Regions from separate parts of the Homo sapiens genome. Here region 2 is linked to region 1. Evidence: promoter capture Hi-C in 16 types of primary human blood cells and fetal thymus (Javierre and others, 2016). All regions are on one chromosome and are shown on one strand. Each heading gives the region's core, a stretch centred on a gene start or on the middle of the fragment in contact. The rest is flanking DNA. Distances are from core to core; before and after follow the strand shown. Region 1 holds the start of MATN1 (matrilin 1). Region 2 has its middle 12 kb from the start of LAPTM5.

The links. Contacts are between HindIII fragments. The CHiCAGO score rates a contact against its expected background, and 5 or more counts as called.
Region 2: a fragment that was not itself captured here is called in contact with the fragment with the promoter of MATN1 in region 1 in 5 of 17 cell types (total CD8 T cells, naive CD8 T cells, naive CD4 T cells and 2 more); the score reaches 7.5 in total CD8 T cells.

Annotation. Positions count from the first base shown.
Region 1 is chr1:30,720,740-30,726,241 of GRCh38, reverse strand. It overlaps MATN1 (matrilin 1), which reads left to right and starts at 2,657. Exons shown (of 8, transcript NM_002379.3): 1 at 2,657-2,784; 2 at 4,491-4,837. The coding sequence starts at 2,691. MATN1-AS1 (MATN1 antisense RNA 1) reads right to left here. Exons shown (of 4, transcript NR_034182.1): 2 at 4,520-4,954; 3 at 191-507. The HindIII fragment of the contact is 11,974 bases long and covers 1-5,502 here.
Region 2 is chr1:30,767,210-30,772,711 of GRCh38, reverse strand. No RefSeq gene overlaps it. Among named protein-coding and RNA genes, the nearest start is that of LAPTM5, 12 kb to the right of the region's middle. The HindIII fragment of the contact is 498 bases long and covers 2,136-2,633 here.

The sequences.
Region 1 (5,502 bases), core at 1,408-3,907:
TGGGGAAAAATGTTTCACATTTAAAAAACACAAATATTGATTTTCTTTCCTTAATGTATATGCTGAACTTTTAGATCTCCTCTCCACCACCGCCCCCAGGCCTTGCCCCTGTTATAGAATGCCAAAGCTGCCTTTTTTTTTTTTCTGGTGGTGTTCGGGGGGGGACCCATCTCTGTTCCTGAAAAGTTACCTGTAGTGTATTTCTGCAGCTCTGCTAATGAGCGGAGAAGTGACACAGAGAAGGCGCCTGTGTTCTTCCGAGGAGCCCATAGAACTGCCATTCAGAGGTGGAGCTGAAAGGGCTGTTTCATGGGCCAGCTGCTGCCCAGCTAACGGAGCCTTGTGCCCTGAGCCCTGGACACAGCCCTGGCCGTCAGGGGGGTTGGGGTGGGGGGAGCAGTTGGTGAGGAGACCCCAGCTCACGTTCTCCTCGTTCACCTCCAGCATGGCACGAGGACAGCATTGCGTTTCTCACCGCTGGTCACCGTGGATGGCCCTTGTGTGACCCTGGGTGGTTTATAGGGAAATGGAACAGGTTCGTAGTTAGTTTTCATTCATTCCTTCATTTGCTTACCAGAGATCCTGTGCCAGGCACCATGCTGGGTCCCAGGGATTCAGTGGTGACTGAGACGGGCAAGCCCCCTGCTCGGAGGGAGCTCACGTCCTTGGGGAGACAGGTAACACCTTAATTACACCATTTTGGGAAGGGAGAGGCACCACCATCATCACACCTTGCAGCATCTCTGGAGAAGAATTCGACTTCAAAGTTGTAGCAGAAAAAGGAATCAGCAGCTTCAAGTGGTTTTTGGAATTGGGGAGGGCAGTGAATTAGGCACACATGAAATATAAGGGGAAAAAGTCAGAAGGCAATGCTCTTAACCTCCTCCTTCTCTAACACTGGTGCAAAGGGGAGTGAGGCCTGAGCTTTAGGCTTGGCTCTGCCCCTAAACTGGCTGGTGGCTTCGGGTAAGTCAGTGAACCTCTCTGGGCCTCAGTTTCTCCATCTGACAAATGGGCCAAGAGACTCAAATCTGCTGACTTCACAGGTTTGTTGGGTGAGCAAATGAGATAGAGTGATAGAATGAGTAACTGCCATGTCAAGGGTGGAAGGGATTGTTATAATTATTGCTAAAGAGTGTGGTAGCGGTGAGTTGGGTCTGCTGCACCCAGCAGTCGCTTTTTGTCTGTACATTTCCTTTTATTGAGGTATAATTTACACAGAGTGAAGTGCATAGGTCCCAAGTCTTAGGATTCTGCCTCCTGGAGCAATGACAATCCTTTAACTCCATTTCCACTTCTGTCCCCCTCTTGCCCCTCACATGGGGCAGGCAGATCAAGAACGACCATTCCCACTGCACCATGGCAAGCTGAGGCTCAGAGAGGTTAAGTCACCAGCTCCAGGTCACACAGCCAGTTAGGAGCAGAAGTGGCTTTGAACCTGGATCTCTCAGGTAGCCAAGCCCATGCTCTTTCTGCTCTATCTCATGAACTACTTGACCCAAATGCAAAGAAGGGGATCGTTCCTGCTGATGTTACTTTGTTTAGAAGGCTTTATCTTTGCCTTCTCTGTGCTGGGCCTGATGCAGAGTTGAATCCACTGGCTGACAGGTGAGGTGGGCCAAGCAGGGACCCACAGGGGGAAGAGATGGGCAGGGAGAAGCCACCTACATCAAGCTACACTGAGACAGCAGCATGGCTGAGAGCCGGGCCTGGGGCTCTATCCTGGCAATAACACTTCTTAGCTGTGTAACTTCAGACAAGTTATTTTACCTCTCTGTTCTTTAACAGTAGCTGCTTTAAAAAGTTGTCAAGAGGATTAACTGAGAAACCTCATCTAACTCCTTTGCTCCTTGAATCAACCCTAGGAGGCGCTATTACCATCCCTAGTTTCCAGATGAGCAATCTGAGACATGAGAGGTGAAGTCACTTGCCCATGGTCACACAGGTGGTTTGCTGGTATAGCAAACCCAGGTAACCTGGCTCCCAAGTCTGTGCTCTTAACCATGGTCTCCACTGCCCTGCCCATACTAACAGTGAAGGTACATGTTAGCCCTAATTATGACCTTGAAAGATTCTACAAGGCAGAGAGTTAGTGAGAGGAAAGGATTCTGGGCAGATGGCCCTGCATGTGTGATGGCCTGGAGGCCTTCGAGGAGAATCCAGGGGTAGCTGGAGAGCAGGGCGTGTGCGGAGAGCAGGGCACAGTGAGGCTGGGGAAGGGGAAGTGAATTTAATGAGAAACTTGGGGTTGTGAGTGGGGGAAGGATTTGGGTGTGGGATGAAGGTGCAGGACAGGGCTGGGCCGGGCCATTGGACTCAGGTATGCCTAGGCTTGGGGTGGAGCTTCAAGGCAGCGCGGGCTCCAGCCCCTGGAAGAGCCACCCCCCACCCACCTGAGATTTCCCAAATTCCAGCTGCCGCTCTAGTTGCTTCTGCAAGCAAAGGAGCCCTTGTGGTCAGAGGGGCCTCTGAAGCCTGGGCCAGGCTCTCCCGCCCTCTCAGGGCACACACACCTCCATTCAGCCCAAGCCCCGCCCTTTGGGGGGGCTGGGGGCCAGGGCGGGCTGCCCCCACGTCAGTCGTCAGTTGGGGGCCACCTGACCCAAAGGCTGGGCGGGCAGTGGGGTTGATAAGACCTGGACCCCACTGGTCCCACAACCGTGCCGGCTGCTGCCCGTGCTGCCAGAACTATGAGGGTCCTCTCTGGCACTAGCCTCATGCTCTGCAGCCTGCTGCTGCTGCTCCAGGCCCTGTGCAGCCCTGGCCTCGCCCCCCAGTCCAGAGGTGAGGGGGCTTGCGTGAGATGGGGGCTACTGAGCTAGTGGGCCCTGACCCTCAGCACTGGGGGCTGGGTACCGATATGGCAGGGAGCACACGGGATCCAGGATGGGGAAGGGAGCAGGGCGGCAGTGGTGGGCAGTGGGCTGGTGCAGGAGCAGACAGGGACCATGGTGCTTATAAGGGTCAGGGCAGGGGTGCTCCTCAGCCCTCAGGGACCATGCATGAGGCAGGGACCTTGGTCTTCCAGGTCTCTGGGGAGCAGAAGCTACTCAGAGAGCTGGCTGACGTCTGGAGCTGCACCAAGCCCAGGGCTGAGCCCATGGCTCTTTGATGACAGCAGACCTGGGATGCCAAGAGCTCATGCCCCCTTTGCAGGTCCTTCCAGCCTTGGGCTCCCTGGGGGCAATAACACCCCCCAGAGTTTCAGGTTTGGGCACTGAGTCCTGGAATGCCCATTCTTCCTGTACAGATGGGGAAACTGAGGTCAGTGAGGGCCTAAGACCACACAGTGAGATAGCGCCAGAGCCTCTAGGTTATTGATCTACTGCTGTACGGTGTGGCCAATTCCCTTTCCCTCTTTGGGTCTCAGTTTACCCATTTGTAGCCTTAGCGAGTAGACAGCAGGGAGCCTGCTGCATGGTGATTTCTAAGGTCTCCTGAGGAACTCTGATGTCCAGAGCCCCAGTCTAGGGCACTGTGAGTTACTGTGACTTGGGGGTTGGGACGGCCCTGCACGTTTCCCCTTTCCTCTTTGGGATTGGCTCTGCTCAGTTCAGACTCCGCATGGGATGGGGAGGGAAGGGCCTTTGTAGTGAGACCTTCCTGACTGCAGGCCCAGGCCAGTGACAGTAGCCTTATTCTCTCCACTGGACATGTGAGATCACGGAGGCTCAGAAAGGTGCAATGATCTGCCCAGGGCCCCACAGAGTGGCTGAGCCAGGATTTGAACCCAGGCCTGAACTCACTCTGACCCTGCATACTTCCCAGCACAGGGTGCTGCCTTCTTGGGTCTCTGGAGGACATTGCTCCTCGGGGGTGTGTCTTGGTGTGCACCTGATCAGGCTGCCGAGGTGGCCACCAGGAATTCCTGCTCCTTTTCCCTGTCTTTGGCAACCCGCCAGCAGGCGCTGCCAGGCTGAGGGAAACTGGTTCCACTTTGGTGATTTGCTTTGATGCTCAGATGAAAGAGGCCATGTTGACGGGCACTGCTTTGGCTCTCAAGCCTGTGCCCATGCCTGGAGGGCCCATCCTTGGTGCCCTCCTGCCCAGCTAGAAGAAATAGCTGCCCTTGTTTCTGGCAGCAAGTCTGGGCTGAAACCTAAATGTGTTTTCAAGGCCGCAGGGTCCTTTGCCACCCCTGGAATACTCATTGCTTGCCTGGCCCCCTGCTGGCTCCTCAAAACATCCTGTAAGGAGGGATTGCTAGCTCACTGCTCAGATGAGGAAACTGAGGCTCAGAGAAGTGAAGCAAATGGCCCAAGGCCAGGCTTGGCCCTCTGTGTTCCCCATGGGCTGAGCAGGGGGCCTTTGGCAAGTTGCTTGCTGGTGTCTGCATGTTGATAAAAGGGCTCAGCTGCCCAGCTGAAGTTTGCAGCCTACTGGGCCCGAGGCCTCGCACCTGGATCTAAGAAGCCGCACTCTGTGTGTTCAGGCCCAGTCCCTGACCTGTGTCTCTGCTCTCTGCCTTACCCCTCCTGCCCCACTCCCAGGCCATCTCTGCCGGACGCGGCCCACAGACCTGGTGTTTGTTGTCGACAGCTCTCGCAGCGTTCGGCCTGTTGAATTTGAGAAAGTGAAGGTATTCCTGTCCCAGGTCATCGAGTCGCTGGACGTGGGGCCCAATGCCACCCGGGTGGGCATGGTCAACTATGCCAGCACCGTGAAGCAGGAGTTCTCGCTGCGGGCTCATGTCTCCAAGGCCGCACTGCTGCAGGCTGTGCGCCGTATCCAGCCGCTGTCCACAGGCACCATGACCGGCCTGGCCATCCAGTTCGCTATCACCAAAGCCTTCGGCGATGCAGAGGGTGGTCGTTCCAGGTCCCCTGACATCAGCAAGGTACGTGCACGCCACCCTGCTAGGATGCTGCTGTTTGGAGGCTCCCGCTCGGAGTTATGAGCTTTGCCTGCAGACACTTTGATTCCCATGATGCCCCGTGAGGTGGCCATTTCATAGCTGGGGAAACAGGGTCAGAGAGGGGCGGTCATTAGACAGAGGTCACCAGTTGCAAGTGACAGAGCTGGGATTTGAAGCCACCTTTACCCAACCTTTCCATCCTAGGAGCTTACAATCATTTCAGTTTAGTTGACCTTGGTTCCCGACCAGTCTGAGCCCCTTGAAGACATTGCAGACAGGCCAGATGCTTATGGGAGGAGTGAAGGTGTGGCCTCCGCCACCAGCCTGCCTGGGTTCACGCCCTGCTCCACCATACTAGCTGTGCCACCCCGAGCAAGTGACGTCATGTCACTGGTGCTCGGTTTCCTCACCTGTAAAATGGGAGTAATGATAACACCTTCTCCAAGTGCTGCTGAGGACTGAGTTCAAAAGCATAAGGCTTCCCATCATGGCATTTGATAATTTTTAATTTCATAATTCTCCGAGGGCAGGGGCTCAGAAATGGAAGGGCTGTGCTGCCACCTGTGCTGTCAGTGAGGGCTCCAGGCAGAGGGCTGAGCGTTTCCCAGGACTTGTATCCTCACTGTCATGTTCAGGGCTCAGCACAG
Region 2 (5,502 bases), core at 1,135-3,634, 47 kb before region 1:
ATTGGTGAATACTTCAACAGATTATCCTGATAAAGCAAACACAGAGAGGTTAAGTGACCTGCTCCAGGTCTCCCAGCAGGTCAGAGGCAGAACCAGTCAAACCGAGTCTGAGTCCTTGGCCTCCAGCTCAGCAGAAAGCAACTAGTGAGAACATCATGATGTCCCTTTGAACAGATTGGGACGGAGGCCCAGAGCAGGGAAGAAATTACCCAAGTGGATGCAGCAAGTTGAGGCAGAGTGAGGACTGGAACTCAGCATGCCGCCTTTGTCTGGTGTTGCAGCCCGGAACCCCCGGGAAGCCTCAGAGAGCCTGAGGGAGGAGGAGAGAAACATCAGAGCAGGGAGCTACTAGGGCCTGGCTGCTCTGCTCCCATGTGGCTCAGGAAGGGCTTGTCCCCTGTTAACATCTATTTGTCATCTCTTCGCTGGGGTGCTTTGAAAGGAGAAGGACGGGTCAGGTACAGTGACTCATGCCTGCAATCCTAGCACTTTGGGAGGCTGAGGCAGGAGGATCACTGGAGGCCAGGAGTTTGAGACCAGCCTGGGCAACATAGTGAGACTCCATCTCTACAAAAAATAAAATAATTAGCCAGGCACACTGGCTCACACCTGTAATCCCAGCACTTTGGGAGGCCGAAGTGGGAGGATCATTTGAGCCCAGGAGTTTGAGACCAGCCTGGGCAACATAGTGAGACCCCCATCTCTACAAAAAATAAAATAATTAACTGGGCATGGTGGTTCATGCCTGTAGTTCCAGCTACTCAGGAGGCTGAGGCAGGAGGACTGCTTGAGCCCAAGAAGCCAAGGTTGCAGTGAGCTGTGATCGCACCACTGCACTCCAGTCTGGGTGACAGAGTGAGACCCTGTCTCCAAAGGGGAAAAAAAAAAGTGAGGGAAAAGGTTGCAGTTAGCTGTGATTGCACCACTGCACTCCAGCCTGGGTGACAGAGCGAGACCTTGTCTCCAAAGGAAAAAAAAAAGTGAGGGATATGTTTCAAGGCAGGCTCCTTCTTCCTGCCTCCTGCCTGACCATCTTGGCTCTGACCTGACATTTCTGAAGTCCCCATCTCCTTTCTGATTTTTTAACAATCTCAAACATATAAGGACATCGCAAGTACAGTAGGGAAAGCTATTTTTCTCCCTGGCCATCTGAGACTAAGTTGCTGTCATCATGCTCTATCCCTGCTGAATACTTGTGTCTATTTCCTACTAACAAGGACATTCTCTTACACAAACACAATGCCATATGAAAATCCCAAAGCAAACCTCACACTGTATCCTAGGTCCCCCTGTTGTTCCAGGAATGTCCTAGCCATTGAGTCATCCTGTCTCTTTAGCCTGGAATAACTCCTCATTGAGTCTTGGTTTTGTGCCCTTGACGTTGTTGGATATTCCAGGCCGGTTTTGGAGAACGTTCCTTATGTTGGGTTTGTCTCCTCTTGGTTATATCAGGCTGAGCATCTTCAGGGGGCTGATCACAGAGAGATGCTGCTTCTCTTCCTGCATCCCTGCAGGTGGCTCACGGTTCTCATTTGCCCTGGTACTGATGAAATCCACTTGGCTCCCTTGGTTGGCTTCTCCACTGCAGAGTGACTCTTTTCCCTTCATCATGGAAAAGGATTTTGTTCGGTCGGCACTCTGAGACACCATGAGTAGCCTACTCCACACCAAACTTCTGTTATGCATTAATTAATTCACATCAGCCAGAACTCACGGTTCCCTATTTTTTTCAGTGGGTGATGCTGTGTTACTGTGGGTATTTATTTTGATGCTCAGAAGAAACCGGAGGGACCTTCTTCATGTCCCCAGTGATGTCCCTGTCATTCCTTGAGTTCTTCCTTATTTTCTGGCACAAAAGATGTTTTAGGCTCATCTTATTCTTTCTCTGGCCTGACCCTGGAATCAGCCATTTCTCCAATGTAGGGGCTAATTTTAAGTTTTCTACCAGACTCGCAGATGAGGCTGAACATTTAGTTATCATATCGTGTGTGTGTGTGTGTGTGTGTGTATGCATGCATGTTAGATGTGTGTTAAAAAAGTGTATTTATGAAATATAACATTAAAAAAGATCAGAGATTTTAAAACTGAGGTTGGGCAGTTCTTTTTTTTAAATATATATAAATACACTAGAAGCTTTAAGGGGGGCCCGGGATGGTGTCCTGGGCCTCTTGTGGTTTCTGCCTTGCCCCTTAGCCTATGAGGCACACGCCCCTGACCTGGCCTCTCCCGCCTGGGCCAGCACATCTGAAGCCCAGAGGGGCGCAGGCGAGGCTGGGGTCTTGCCAGAGCAAACATAGCCCCTGTGCAGGGCCAAGGGAAACAGCGTTGGGTCAATATTAGCTCGTGCGAAACAGGCCTGAGGAACGTGTGGTTTGTCCCACTCGGCCTCTGGGAGGGAGAGGTGGACTCAGGCGCTCACAGCAGCACTTACCATTGTTGGGCCAGCCTCCTTCTGTGTGGATGGGGAAACTGAGGCCCAGAGGTGGCAGGGCAGGGACTTGCCTTGGGTCACAGTGCTCAGAACAACACTCTTTTGTAGTCTACATTCTTTTTTTTTTTTTTTTTTCTGGAGATGGCCTTGCTCTGTCGTCCAGGCTGGAGTGCAGTGGCGCAAGTATAGCTCACTGAAAGCTTGATCTCCTGGGCTCAAGGGATCCTCCTGCCTCAGCCTCCGGAGTAGATGGGTCTACAGGTGCATACTTCCATACTGGCTAACTTAAATTTTTTTTTTTTTTTTGTAGAGATGGGGTGTTGCTATGTTGCCCAGGCTGGTTTTGAACTCCTGGTCTCAAGTGATCCTCTCGCCTCAGCCTCCCAAACTGTGAATTCTCCATTCTTTTCCTTCAGTTGTTTCTGTTTTCCTCCCTGAGGCTTCTGGGAAGCAGCAGAAGTCAGGTCAGCAAGCACTGGACTGAGAGTCAGGAGTTCTAGTCCCATTTCTGTCTCGCTCTGCAGTGGGACTCTGGGGATGTTACTGCTTCATTCTGGGCCCTTATATCTCAAAGGTTCCTTCTCCCTGAAAATTACAAACTTTGACCTTCAGTGCATCCGCTCAACTAATTCAGGTCCTCAAAATCGAAATTCTTTAGGGGCCAGGTAGAGAAGGTAAATGTGGGGTGTGACAAGTTGTGGGACAATAGGGAGAGGCGGGGACGGTGGAGAGCTGGAAAGTGTGTGCCTGTCATGAAGACATTCGAAGTGAAACAACAAGATGGTGGGACCGTGTTGGTCCTGGGAAGCCCCGAGTGTCTGCAGGCCTGGCTGACTGCTTTCAGGTGTAGCAGGCCTGAGGCAGAGCAGAAGGACAGAGCCCCGGCTCTCGCATCATGTCACACTGCCCCCTGTATCTGACCCTGGAGAAGAGGGAGGCCTGGCTGGGGCTGCCGTTTCCAGGCCCAGGAAAGTACCGTGACGGCTGCTGCGAGGCTCAGGGGTGAGACGTGGCCTGGAGAAGCAGGGAGTGGTCAGGCCTGGGAGTGACGTGGTCCCTGGTCCAGCCCTTCTGCCGGGCTCTCTGAGATTTCATCTACACTCCAGCTGCCGGGATGTGCACACCCGCCCCTGCTCACCTCCTGCCTTATCTGTGGGTCCTGCTGCCTCAGCCTCCTATCTCCCAACTCCAGCTGCTTCCCCTACCTCTCCTTCCTGCCACAAGGGAAAGTCACTGACCACCAACTGCTGCCCACACCCTGACACAACCTCCCCAGCCCCCTCCAACCCTTGAAGAAGCTGAGAACCTGCTTCTGCTCATCCCAGGCCAGCATTTGAGTTCCAGTTTGCCACTTAGGATCTGGGCTCTAGGATCTTGGGCAAATGGCTCAACGTCTCAGAGCCTTGGTTTTCTCATCTCTAAAACGGAAGGTCATCTGGCCATGCTGGATCACTGGGTTGTGTTGTTGTGAGGATTGAACCAGGTAAGGTAAGAGAGTGAGGTCCAGAGCTGCTGCTCAACACACATTCCTCCTCACAGCTTTGGCTCCCAGACTGGATCAGAAACTCAGGTCTCAGCATATCAGGGCCCGCCTCCTCCTGGAAGCCTTCCCTGTTTGCCAAAGCCCAGGCTGAACTCCCAAAGAATAAATAGCTCCAAAGTGGGAGAGACAGGGAGGAGTAGGAAGGGGCTTCAGTGTGCAGCTAGTACATACTTCTCATTTTGAAGTTCATGACGGAAGGCTCTCTTATTTTACAAAGGAGTAAACTGAGGCACAGAGAGTAAGTCTGTATACGAAGCAAGTAAAACAGCTGACTTCCGGCTTGGTGCTCGTCCCAGCACAACACAGCCCTTCCCTTCCAGCAACCCCGGACAGTGGCCTGTGCCACTCGGTGGACAAACACTATGGATGCTCACTTCTGTGCCCAGGCTCACCTCTGCCTGCTTGAACCTCCGCTGCAGACTAACACAAACAGGATGAGGACACAGCATGTCAGGGCCCAAAACGTGGTGCAAGCTGGGGCACACAAGTGACTCAGAAGAGGGACTGATGTAAAAGCAGCAGCATGAAAGTGCTAGCAAAAACCATGGAGGAGTTTTCATAACCAGACACTTTAACAGATATTATAAATTAAATTATCAACACATTCAAGTTCCCTTTAAAAATGGTGAAAAGGCCGGGTGTGGTGGCTCGCGCCTGTAATCCCAGCACTTTGGGAGGCCGAGGCAGGTGGATCACCTGAGATCAGGAGTTTGAGACCAGCCTGGCTAACATGGTGAAACCCCATCTTTACTAAAAATACAAAAATTAGCCGGGCCTGGTGGCGCGTGCCTGTAGTCCCAGCTACTTGGGAGGCTGAGGCAGGAGAATCGCTTGAACCTGGGAGGCGGAGGTTGTAGTGAGCCGAGATTGTGTCACTGCACTCCAGCCTGGCGACAGAGCAAGACTCTGTTTCAAAAAAGGAGAAAAAAAAAAAAAGGTGAAAAATCCCATAAGCAAATCCAGGGATTATTGCGACTTACTTTACAGGCAAAAGAAGAATTTCCTTAACATCTAAAAAACACCTGCAAATCAATAAGAACTAGGCCAACAACCGGAAAAAAAATAGTGGGCAAAGGATCCAGGCAGTTTCTAAAAAAGGAAATACAAATTGTTCCTAAATATGTGAACATATCCTTAACCTTCTAAAAAGAATTGAACTGCAATGCAAACCATTTTTTATCGATCATATTAGTGAAGATTAAGAAGTTTGATACCTCACTGTGTTGGTGAGGCTATGGGAAGTGGCCACTCTTTCACCTTGCTGGTGGGAGTATGAATTGGTACAACCTCTGTGAAGGGCAACTCGCTGATACTGAAAAACACTGGAATGATCGTACCCTTTAACCTAGTAATTCTGTTTTTAGGAAGCTGACTTCCACATGTATTGTATTCACACATGTGAAAATGATACATGTACAATAGTGCTTATTGCTGTAGCGTGTGTAATTGCAAAAGGCTGGAAACAATCTAATGTCTGTGGGTTAAAATTTATTTAATGATGAGATAGTCACCCAAAGGAACAGTATGC